Linked DNA regions of Homo sapiens: region 2 is linked to region 1. Evidence: promoter capture Hi-C in 16 types of primary human blood cells and fetal thymus (Javierre and others, 2016). All regions are on one chromosome and are shown on one strand. The core of a region is centred on a gene start or on the middle of the fragment in contact, and the rest is flanking DNA. Distances in the headings are between cores, read along the strand shown. Region 1 holds the start of VPS35L (VPS35 endosomal protein sorting factor like). Region 2 overlaps PDILT (protein disulfide isomerase like, testis expressed).

What was found. The method cuts DNA at HindIII sites, captures the fragments that hold promoters and counts their contacts. A CHiCAGO score of 5 or more calls a contact.
Region 2: a contact is called between a fragment that was not itself captured here and the fragment with the promoter of VPS35L in region 1, in 1 of 17 cell types (total CD4 T cells). The highest score is 5.2, in total CD4 T cells.

What each region holds. Positions count from the first base shown.
Region 1 is chr16:19,553,388-19,559,023 of GRCh38, reverse strand. VPS35L (VPS35 endosomal protein sorting factor like) reads right to left here and starts at 3,321. Exons shown (of 31, transcript NM_020314.7): 1 at 3,278-3,321. The coding sequence starts at 3,294. CCP110 (centriolar coiled-coil protein 110) reads right to left here. Exons shown (of 14, transcript NM_001323572.2): 14 at 5,616-5,636. RefSeq lists enhancers at 2,637-2,866, 2,725-3,687, 3,247-3,726. The HindIII fragment of the contact is 7,423 bases long and covers 2,540-5,636 here.
Region 2 is chr16:20,376,234-20,382,285 of GRCh38, reverse strand. All of the region lies in intron 3 of PDILT (protein disulfide isomerase like, testis expressed), which reads left to right. Among named protein-coding and RNA genes, the nearest start is that of PDILT, 25 kb to the left of the region's middle. The HindIII fragment of the contact is 9,970 bases long and covers 1-6,052 here.

The DNA.
Region 1 (5,636 bases), core at 2,072-4,571:
CAATCACAATATTACCCAGCCCCCTTCACCGCTACACATAAAAAAAACTCTTAAAATGATGTAGAGATTCTGACTCCAAGGGTTGTTTTTTTTTTTTTTTTGAGACGGAGTCTCACTGTGTCATCCAGGCTGGAGTGCAGTGGCGCGATCTCAGCTCACTGCAACCTCTGCCTCCTGGGTTCAAGCAATTCTCCTGCCTCAGCCTCTGGACTAGCTGGGACTGCAGGCACCCGTCACCACGCCTGAGGAATTTTTTTTTTTTTCTAGTAGAGACAGGGTTTCACTATGTTGGTCAGGCTGGTCTTGAACTCCGGACATCAAGTGATCCACCCGCCTCAGCCTCCCAAAGTGCTGGGATTAGAGGCATGAACCACCTTGCCCGGTCCAAAGGGTGGTATTTCCAAGTGTGCTATAACCACAGGATTAAACGGAAAATGTGATCTAGGGTATACAGGACATCTCATCTCCTAGCCAGGCCAAAATATAGCAGGGATAGCAAAAACTGTGGGTAAAAAGAGGCATTCCTGGGGAGACCCATGACAAGGCAGTGGGATTTGGGGAACCCCGCAAGCCAGAAACCTCAGCCCAGGATATAGATTTGAAGTCCAGCTGATGAGGATGATTACTATCATAGCCTCTGGCTTCCAAACCTCAGCTATCCCTTGTGGGGCTAATTTAAGTAAACTGCTTCATCTCTCTGCCTCTATTTCTTCCTCCGCAACATGGGGTTGTTATAAGAACCTAATGATGTTACATGTTACGCACTTTACGAGTGATGTCTGACAGAAAATAAGGACTTGATAAATGTAAATTTAATGACAGAAACTCATTTCTCCTCTGCAGTCCTCCTCAGTTTCCTCATTCATTCATAAATATTATTCAGCACTCACCATTATGTTCTAGGCTCCACATACAAAGATGGACAAAACTCAGTCCCTTTAACTTTTTTTTTTTGAGACGGAGTCTCGCTTAGTAGCTCAGGCTGGAGTGCAATGGCACGATCTTGGCTCACTGCAACCTCCGCCTCCTGGGATCAAGTGATTCTCCCGGGATCAAGCGATTCTCCCACTTCAGCCTCCTAAGTAGCTGGGATTACAGGAACCTGCCGTCATGCCTGGCTACTTTTTGTATTTTTGTGGAGACGGGCTTTCACCACGTTGGGCAGGCTGGTCTTGGAACTCCTGACCTCAGGTGGTCCGCCTGCCTCGGCCTCCCAAAGTGCTGGGATTACAGGCATGAGTGACCGCGCCCAGCCAGTCCTTTTAACTTTTAAGGAGCAAGAAGTCTATTAGGGAAACTGAAAGATGAATGCATACTTCAAAAGGAAATGTTCAGAGCACGGGCCGGGTGTGGTAGCTCACGCCTGTAATCCCAGCACTTTGGGAACCCGAGGTCGGCGGATCACTTAAGGTCAGGAGTTCGAGACCAGCCTGGCCAACATGATGAAACACCGTCTCTACTAAAAATACAAAAATTAGCCTGGTGTGGTGGCATCGCCTGTAATCCCAGCTACTCGGGAGAGTGAGGCAAAGAATCACTTGAGCCGGGAGGCGGAGGTTGCGGTGAGCCAAGATCACGCCACTGCAATCAAGCCTGGGCGAGACTCCGTCTCAACAAAAACAACAACAACAAAATATTTAGAGCACGGCCATATTAGGAACTATAGAGACCCTAAATACTAAAAGCGTTATGGCACCTGTTTGCCTGCTTGTAATATAAAATTAAAATTCCAAAGGTAGAAATGTACTGGGATGCAGAGATTAAGACAGCATCTTCCTGGATTTTCTGATTGCAAACTTCAGATAAATCCACTGAAGTCAAATGTTTCTCATGTTTTTGGTTAGCTTTTTGGTCAAGCCAGCATGACTTTTTCATTTTTTATTATTATTTTTTTGAGACAGAGTCTCACTGTTGCCCAGGCTGGAGTGCAGTGGCATGATCTCGGTTCACTCCAGCTTCCGCCTCCCAGGTTCAAGCGACTCTCCTGCCTCACCCTCCCAAGTAGCTGGGATTACAGGTGCGTGCCACCACTAATTTAGCCCAGCTAATTTTTGTATTTTTAGTAGAGATTAGGTTTCGCCATGTTGGCCAGGCTGGTCTCGAACCCCTGACCTCAGGTGATCCGCCAGCCTCGGCCTCCCAAAGTGCTGGGATTACAGGCGTGAGCCACCATACCCAGCCAGCATGACTATTAACTGAAAAAAAAAAAAAAACCTCAGGGTGTGGAAGTGCTCAGAGGCATTCAATGCTGATGTAGCGTGTCAAGGAAGCAGTCTCTTAAGTGTTGGGCAAATGAAAGGAATAAGACAAAATGAAGTGTTTATCAAGCTCAAAAGCAGAAGGTTGTACCTGATTATTTCTAAGGTCTTTCATTTGCTCATTTAATCTAAGCTACTTCACATCATTTGAAGAGAAAGTAAATTATCTCGCTTTCTGAGATGCAGGAGAGATTCCCCGTCCCCAAATCCCACTATCATCAACAACACAACTTCCTCAAGTTCTTCACTCACACACATACCACCTGCTGAACCCTGAAGCTTCAGTCACTCATTCCTAGCTACTCCAACCACAAGGGACCTACGGGCCTGCCAACCAGGCACACGCCACGCCCTCCCTATGGTGGACTCCTATTCATCCTCCAAGACCCAATTTAACTCCTCCTCTCTGAAGCCTTCCCCTAGCCCCCTGGTGGGGATAATCACTCCCTTCTTGGTGCCTCATCCGAATGCCTTCTTTAGACATCCCTCTACTGTGCGTCTGCCCCATTATACTGTCAGCTCCTTGAGGCCAAGGAATAAGTCTGAGGGCTGTGCCTAGGATAGGATGAATGGCGGCCATTTTACAGATGAGAAAAGCAAGTCTCCAGGTGAACAGAGGAGCTGAGGAAACTGACCAACAGCCAGATCTCCCGACTCGTCCAGACTTTAAAAGCTGAGTCCACCATTACCCTCATCCAGCGACCCCAGAACCCGCGCCAACTTCTGGGGACGCGGAAGCCTGGAAACTCAAGTTTTCTTTAGGGAATGAATGGACAGGGGCCCGTGGAAGGCGCAGAGAGGCAGCAGACGGGGAGAGAACCAAGAACCCGCCAGTCTGGCTTCAGATTGCTCCGCTGGACCGCGGTAGCGGCCAGGGATTCTACGGTCAAGACAACTTGGGGGTGGCCGGTCGACCACCAGAACCCGACAGAGAGGAATTCACACTCTCAGACCCAGGCCGACCCCATCACAAGTAAGGACAGCCCCTCTCCAAAGCCCACCCGCCGCTGCTTCCTTACCAAGGAAAGACGGCCATCTTCCCAGTCACATGACCGCTTGTTCTGGGGCCGTCTGCTCGGCTTCCCATCCTTACCCCGCCACTCCCCGCACCCCTCGGCCGCCATGTTTGTGAAGGGCAGCTGGCCGCCCCGCAGCGGCCGCACAGCACCTTCTGCAGACGCCATGCTTGTGAGGGGCAGGCGACGCTCCGCACAGCACAGGCTTCATTTTCAGCTGACGCCATGCTTGTGAGGGGCAGCTCCCCGCTCCGGACAGCCCGGGTTACAACTCCCGCCGGCGCCATGCTTCGGAGGAGCAACGTCGGCCACGGCCAGAGTGCCGTAGTTTCTATGAGTCATGATTGTAAAGGGCAGCTGTCTACAGTGCCGGGTGGTCCCGCCTGCGGGCGTCATGATGGTAAAGGGCATGACTGCTGCTTAGCTCACCTGCGTCCTCTAGGGGCAGAAAGGACTCCAGAAGGCGGCGGAGCGAAGACGCAAACTGAGGTTCAGCCAGTACCTGGTTTTGCGGCTAATACGCTGTTTGGCGTGGGACAGCCATGCCCCCTCTAGGCCGCTGCTTTACCCACTGCTTTGCGGGCGGTTTTAGACACTTGCAGAATGCCCTTCCCACGACTAGCAACCGAGGGCTGCCCTAGATCTAATATGATTGACTACAGCTAATGCACGTGGGGAAATTAGGGTTCGCATTTCGTCCAACTTGGCAAAGCAGTGTTTCTAGGAAGGTGGATATCCATTTCGACCACAGAACGTTTTTAAAAATTATTTTAGGCCGGGAGCGGTGGCTCAGGCCTATGATCCCAGAACTTCGGGAGGCCGAGGTGGGTGGTTCACCTGATGTCAGGAGTTCGGGACCAGCCTGGCCAACATGGTGAAACCCCGTCTCTACTAAAAAATACAAAAACTAGTTGGGTATGGTGGCGGGCGCCTGTAATCCCAGCTACTCGGGAGGCTGAGGCAGGAGAATTGCTCCAACCCGGGAGGATGAGGTTGCAGTGAGCCGAGATTGCGCCATTGCACTCCAGCCTGGGCTACAAGAGCGAAACTCCATCTCAAAAAAAAATTTTTTTTTTAATTATTACTTTTATAACTTACTTAGATATCCATTATGGTCCCTTAGAGAGAAAGCATTCGATGTTTTTATAACTCTTACTTTTCATTCGGGGGTGGTGGTCTGTGGTTGTTCATGAGATGGTGACCTATGACAGGGAAAAGGATCATCTCCAGAACGGGCCCTCCAGTGTTCAGCTCAGTATGAGTAGGAAAGTATATCCACTCGTACCTGCTATTCCCAACACTGGAAGTGAACAAGGGTTAAAGGGTGGCCACGGGAAAGCAAGGAGCTCTTCCCATACAGCCATGCATGTTATCACATGCAACATCTCAATAAGAGGTCAAGGTGAGGAGCCTTTTCCTAGGCTCACACTGCATGATTAGGCAGTAACAAGAGGAGGATTCTTAAAGTTGTGCAAATTAACAGCTTTGATGTGAGCTTCAACCTTCGCATTCTCTTTTCTCCCTCTCCTTCCCTTAGCAGGCTTCTATCTCTTAATAAGTTAAGACATTTCCAGCCTGAGTTTTACCTTCTGAAAAGTCCAACTTTTAGTAGAGACGGGGTTTCACTATGTTGGCCAGGCTGGTCTCAAACTCCTGACCTCAGGTGATCCTCCCGCCTTGGCCTCCCAAAGTGTTGGGATTACAGGCGTGAGCCACTGCACCTGGCCCAGGGGACATATTAAATAATGAGATATATCTTTCATGGAACTTGTAAAGAATGATTATATACAATATTTGTTTTGGCCTAATACTTTTCAATATCTGTTTCTTTTTTCTTTTTTGTTTTGGAGACAAAGTCTCATTCAGGCTGGAGTGCAGTGGTGCGATTATAGCTCACTGCCACCTGTAACTCCTGGGTTCAAGTGATCCTCCTGCCTCAGCCTCCAGCGTACCTAGGACTACAGATGTGAACCACCATGCCTGGCTAATATCGGTTTCTTTTTTGTTTTGTTTTGAGATGGAGTCTTGCTCTGTCACCCAGGCTGCAGTGCAGTGGCACAATCTCGGCTCACTATAGCCTCCCCATCCCAGGCTCAGGCGATTCTCCTGCTTCAGCCTCCCAAGTAGCTGGAACTACAGGCATGCACCACTACGCCCAGCTAATTTTGTATTTTTAGTAGAGACGGGGTTTCACCATGTTAGCCAGGCTGATCTCAAACTCCTGATCTCATGATCCACCCACCTTGGCCTCCCAAAGTGCTAGAATTACAGGCATGAGCCACCATGCCCGGCCTATTTCTTAATAGTCCTTCCCCTGGTAAATAAAAACAATCAAACTAGATTTTCTTTAAGATGAAAAGTT
Region 2 (6,052 bases), core at 2,955-5,454, 820 kb before region 1:
AGATGTGTTCATTATTATTATCAGACTATTAGTTTTCTCATTCTAGTCCAATGCCTGGAACAATTAAGTTCTTAACAAATAGTTTTTGAGCCAGGTGCAGTGGCTCAACCTGTAATCCCAACACTCTGGGAGGCTGATATGGGAAGATCACTTGTGCCCAGAAGTTTGAGACCAGCCTGGTCAACATAACAAGACCCTGTCTCTACAAAAACCTTAAAACTTAGCCAGGTGTGGTGGCAGATACCTGTATTCTCAGCTACTTAGGAGGCTGAGGTGGGAGAATTGCTTGAACCCAGGAATTTGTGACTGCAGTGAGCCATGATTGCACCACTGCACTTCAGCCTGGGTGACAGAGTGAGATCCTGTCTCTAAATTTTAAAATAATAATAATAAAAGTTTTAGATTTTGAATACAATGGAATTGGAAGCACCCACTGCAGGTGGGCATAGGGTAAAGTACCCACCCATATTTCTGCTGGGCTTGCTTCCTCAGTATTACTTCTAACCAGAGAAAGGGCAAAGGGAATGCCAGGATGAAGCTGGGACAGGGATTGAGGATGCCTGGATTTTAGGATGAGCAGTAACCATGGGAACTTCAACGAGCCTTTTACAACCAGGCTTCCAATTTCTCTTTTTTTTTTTTTTTTTTTTTGAGATGGAGTCTCACTGTTTTGCCAGGCTGGAGTGCAGTGGTGCGATCTCGGCTCACTGCAACCTCCGCCTCCCGGGTTCAAGTGATTGTCTTGCATTAGCCTCCCGAGTAGCTGGGACTACAGGCATGTGCCACCACTCCCAGCTAATTTTTAGTATTTTTAGTAGAGATGGGGTTTCACCATGTTGGCCAGGATGGTCTCAATCTCTTGATTTCATGATCCACCTGTCTCGGCCTCCCAAAGTGCTGGGATTACAGGTGTGAGCCACCGCACCCGGCCCAATTTCTCATTTTCTAAACAGGATGAGTAAGGCCAGTTCTGCCTACTTGCCAGGGCTCCTCTGAGCTGAGAGGAGACAGTGCTTTACGCATCTTCTGCAATGTGACTTTGATGAAAACTCCTCTTAGGACACTGGTGGGATTTAGTCCTTGCAGGGTCAAAGCCCCAGTCCCATTCTCATCTAATCTCCAAGGATTGATGGCAGGAGACTTGGCCATGGCCATTGCTCTGGAAGGAGGGAGACTCAGGTTGCCTCTAGGCCTCTATTAATGATGCAGCCACAGTCTGTGCCTGGAAATATGCAGCCCAGTGCTGGTCCTAGTCAATCATTGACATTGCATTCACACCTCAGTTGTCACCGTGTCCTCTGGCACAGAGCCAAGCACCAAAGGAGGTCCCTGACAAGGGCAGTGCCTGATCTGCAGGCACAAAGGAATCAACAATTTGCAGAGTTCATAACTACCTCGGTCCCACAGGGGCCAGAGGGGCAAATGGAGCTCACACGTCCCCAAGAAGATGGCCCAAGATCAAGTTTCCTCAAGCCAGCTTCCCTGATGATTCATTCAGCCCATTCATTCATTCTAGAAAGATTTCTTAAGCATCTACTATGTGCCAGGCATTACAGGAGCTTACTGGGAGCTCACACTGAACAAGCTAGTGAAAAATCATTCTAATAATTTCAAGAAGGGATAGACTCAATGAAGAAAATAGGGTAGCTCGGCTGGGCACGGTGGCTCACGCCTGTAATCCCAGCACTTTGGGAGGCCAAGGCGAGTGGATCACGAAGTCAGGAGTTCAAGACCAGCTTGGCCAAGATGGTGAAACCCCATCTCTACTAAAAATACAAAAAATTAGCTGGGTGTGGTGGCGGGCACCTGTAATCTCAGCTACTCCGGAGGCTGAGACAGAGAATTGCTTGAACCCAGGAGGCAGAGGTTGCAGTGAACTGAGATCACACCACCGCACTCCAGCCTGGGCAACAGAGTGAGACTCCATCTCAAAAAAAAGAAAAAAAGAAAAAGAAAATAAAAGAAAAGAAAATAGAACAGGTCATAAGACAGAGAGTGATTGGCTAAAAGAAAAGAAGAACCAACTGAGAATTGAACAGGCAGAAGAAGGCACTGCCCTTGAAGAGCTGAGGAAAGGGCAGCCCATCAGGAGGGACAAGCCAAGGCTGAAGCCAGTGTTCTGGAAGATAACTGTAACGTTGGAGTGTGGAAAGGGCAGAGGGTGGCACAAAGTGACATCAGAGCAATGGTTCTGATGACCTGAAATTTAAATTCATTTGGCAGGTTTTGTTTTTGGATATTTTCAGATTTTGTAAATCAATTCCTTTTGGATCACTTACAATATACTTTTGCCAGACAAAAGCATATAAGAGAAACCATTTGTTTCCAAGTGTGACTTATTTTTACCTAAAGATGGCTGGAAACACTGTACAGAAACTCAGTGTTGAGGCTGATATCTCAGAGGAGGGAATTACAGCAGATGTGGGGTACCAAGGTCTGAGGGTGGCATGATGCCTCCTCCTTCTCTCTTCTCTTGAAGCCACCATATCAGCTTCACATGAATTTCCATAGGTTTGACTCATTGTGGCTTTTAACATGACCTTAACTATATCTACTAAAGTTGAACATGGCATCTGCTATGACCAGAAATTCTCCTGCTGGCTATACACCCAACAGAAGTGCATACAGTGTGCCCCAGAGACATGCACAAGAATTCATTCAGAATAGCCCCAGCCGGGCATGGTGACTCATGCCTGGAATCCCAGCATTTTGGGAGGCTAAGGTGGGAGAATTGCTTGAGCCCAGGAGTTCGAGACTGGCCTGGGCAACATAGCAAAACCTCGTCTCTACTAAAAATTGCTTAAAAATTAGCCAGGTGTGGGCTGGGCGTGGTGGCTCATGCCTGTAATCCCAGCACTTTGGGAGGCTGAGGCGGGAGGATCACCTGGAGTTCGAGACCAGCCTGGCCAACATGGTGAAACCCTGTCTCTACTGATACTAAAAAATTAGTGGGGTGTGGTGGCACGTGCCTGTAGTCCCAGCTATTCGGGAGGCTGAGCCAGGAGAATCACTGGAACCCGGGAGGCAGAGGTACGGTGAGCCAAGATTGAGCCCTTACACTCCAGCCTGGGCAACAGAGCAAGACTCTGTCTCAAAAAATAAAAATTAGCCAGGTGTGGTGGTACATGCCTGTAGTCCCAGCTACTCAGGGGGCTGAGGTGGGAGGATGGCTTGAGCCTGGGAGATCGAGGCTGCAGTAAGCCACGACTACACCACTGCACTCTAGCCTGGGTGACAGAAGGATAAACTGTCTCAAAAAAAAAAAATGCCCTAAAATGAGAGCAACTAAATGCCCATTAGCAGAGAATGGACAAATAAGTTGTGGGATATTCACAGCAGTGGAAATGAATCTTCAAGTACATGAAAAACTGTGGCTGAATCTCACAAACATAATGAAACCAGAGCCAAGAACATTTATATGAAGTTCAGGAACAGGCAGACTAATGTAATCTGTTACAAGTTAAGGTGGCAATGGAATACTACAAAGCCATAAAAAGGAATGAGATCGTGTCCTTTGCGGGGACATGGATGAAGCTGGAAGTCATCATTCTCAGCAAACTAACACAGGAACAGAAAACCAAACACACTCACTCATAAGTGGGAGTTGAACAATGAGAACACATGGACACAGGGAGGGGAACATCACACATTGGGGCCTGTCTGGGAGTGGAGGGCGAGGGAAGGGAGAGCATTAGGACAAATACCTAATGCACGCGGGGCTTAAAGCCTAGGTGATGGGTTGATAGGTACAGCAAAGCACCGTGGCACATGTATACCTATGTAACAGACCTGCATGTTCTACACATGTATCCCAGAACTTAAGGTAAAATAAAAAGAAGAAGAAGGAGAAGAAGAGGAAGAGGAAGCAGAAGAAGAACAAGAAGGAGAAGAAGGAGAAGAAGAAGTAGTTAGAGTGGTGGTTACTTTTGGATTGAGGGGAGTAGAGGCTGGGAGTGGGCACAACAGGGACTGCTGAGGATCTGGTGATGTTCTAGTTCTCGATTTGGGTTGTAGTCACACAAGTGTGTTCGTTTTGTAAAAATCCATCTAACCATACATTATCATTTATGCACCTTTCTGCATGTAAATATACTTTATTATAAGTTTTTGAAAAGCCTTCATGTTCTCATGAAATAAAACAAATATAACGAAGGTAGAGCCTTTGCAGTTGATTTAGTAGCTCAGGGTGCATTCATCCAGCCTCAGGTAGCAATTTGTCCTGCTGCAGGACTTTGTATAGGCTGTTTCTCCTAGAAGACTTTCCCTCTCCTTAATGCCTCCTAGTTAACTCCAGAGCATTCTTTTCTTTCTTTCTTTTTTTTTTTCTTTTTAAAGACAGAGTCTTGCCCTATCTCCCGCGCAGGAGTGCGGTGGTGCGAACTTGGCTCACTGCAACCTCCACCTCCTGGGTTCAAGCGATTCTCCTGCCTCAGCCTCCCAAGTAGCTGGGATTACAGGCGTGTGCCACCATGCCTGGATAATTTTTTGTATTTTTAGTAGAGATGGGGTTTCACTGTGTTAGCCAGGATTGTCTCGATCTCCTGACCTTGTGATCCGCCCTCCTCGGCCTCCCAAAGTGCTGGGATTACAGGCATGAGCCACTGCGCCTGGCCCAGTGCATTCTTTATTTTACAGCTCATCCATAATTTCCTCCAGGAAGTCCTCCTTGACTTCACAGTCTAAGTCAGGCATCTTTGCTACAGACTCGCAGAACTTTGATTTCAAACATTTCCTTTGGGTGTAATGATGCCCTTGTTCATGCATTTATTTGATTGTTGTCTTCCTCGACAGAATGAGAGCTGTGAAATGGTGGTAATGTGTTTGTTTCTGTTCATCCTTATATCTCCAGGGCTGAGTACAGCACTTGATAGTAAGCACTCGGTACATATTTGCCAAGTAAATAAATGAGGGAAGAAATAAATGAGTGCGTAAATGAATAACAGTCTGTGGATGTAGTTCAAAGCTACTCACAACGAATATTGCTTTATCTCATAAATTTATTTATTTATTTTAGAGACAAGGTCTCACTCTGTCTCCCAGGCTGATTGTAGCTCACTGCAGCCTTGAACTCCTGGGCTCAAGCAATCCTTCTGCCTCAGCCTCCCAAGTAGCCGGGACTACAGACACATGCCACCATGCCTGGCTAATTTTCTTTTGTTTTTTGTAGAGCTGAGTGTCTCGCTATGTTGCCCAGACTGGTCCCAAACTCCTGGCCCCAAGTGATTCTCCTGCGTTAGTCTCCCAAAGTGCTGGGAAATAGGCATAGGCCACCATGCTTAGCTCATAAACTTATTTAAAATGTTCAGTTTTAATGTTCTATAGCAGATACAAATATATAATATTTTACATTACTTTCCATCATGTGAAACTGATAATCCTAGAAAAACACACGTTCACCTGTGTATAGCCTTCTGTACCTTCTGGCTCACCAATTTGTCTTCCCAGATATAGTATATGTGTCTTAATTTTGGAAGCTAAGACTTTTGTGTGCTTGACACCAACCATGCTATAGCTGAGAAATGGCAGTCAGGAGTGGATGACCTTAAAGGGCATTTGGATCTCAGCTGAGGAATGGGGGCTGCAGGAAGATAATAGGATTTTCCCAAGGTTACAGAGCTATGTGGTCTTTCCAGTTATATTTTATTGAGATTTTAAAATATAAATCAATCTTCCTGTCACCTTGGAGAGTTCATAAGAAAAGAAGTCTGGAAATGCCTCCTCCTAAATTTGATCTTCAGGTTCTCTAGTTGGGTGCCTGTTGGCAGTTGAACCTTGGTTTCTTCATCTGCAAAATGGGGAGAGTAAAAGTGTCTATTTCATAGGATTATTGTGAAGATTTAATATATGCAAAACGTTCAGCACAGTGTCTGGGCCTTGTTGAGTGCTCAGTAACATTTAGCTGCTGTTGTTAATGTTCGTGCTTGGAGCTTGGGGAAGAGGGGAATGGAGGAACTGACTTTGGCCTTCAAGGGGTGGGAGCCTGAGACAAGAAGGTTCTATGCATTAAACTTGAGAAAGACCAGCTTCTTGCTTTGGTTCAAGAGGAAACTTC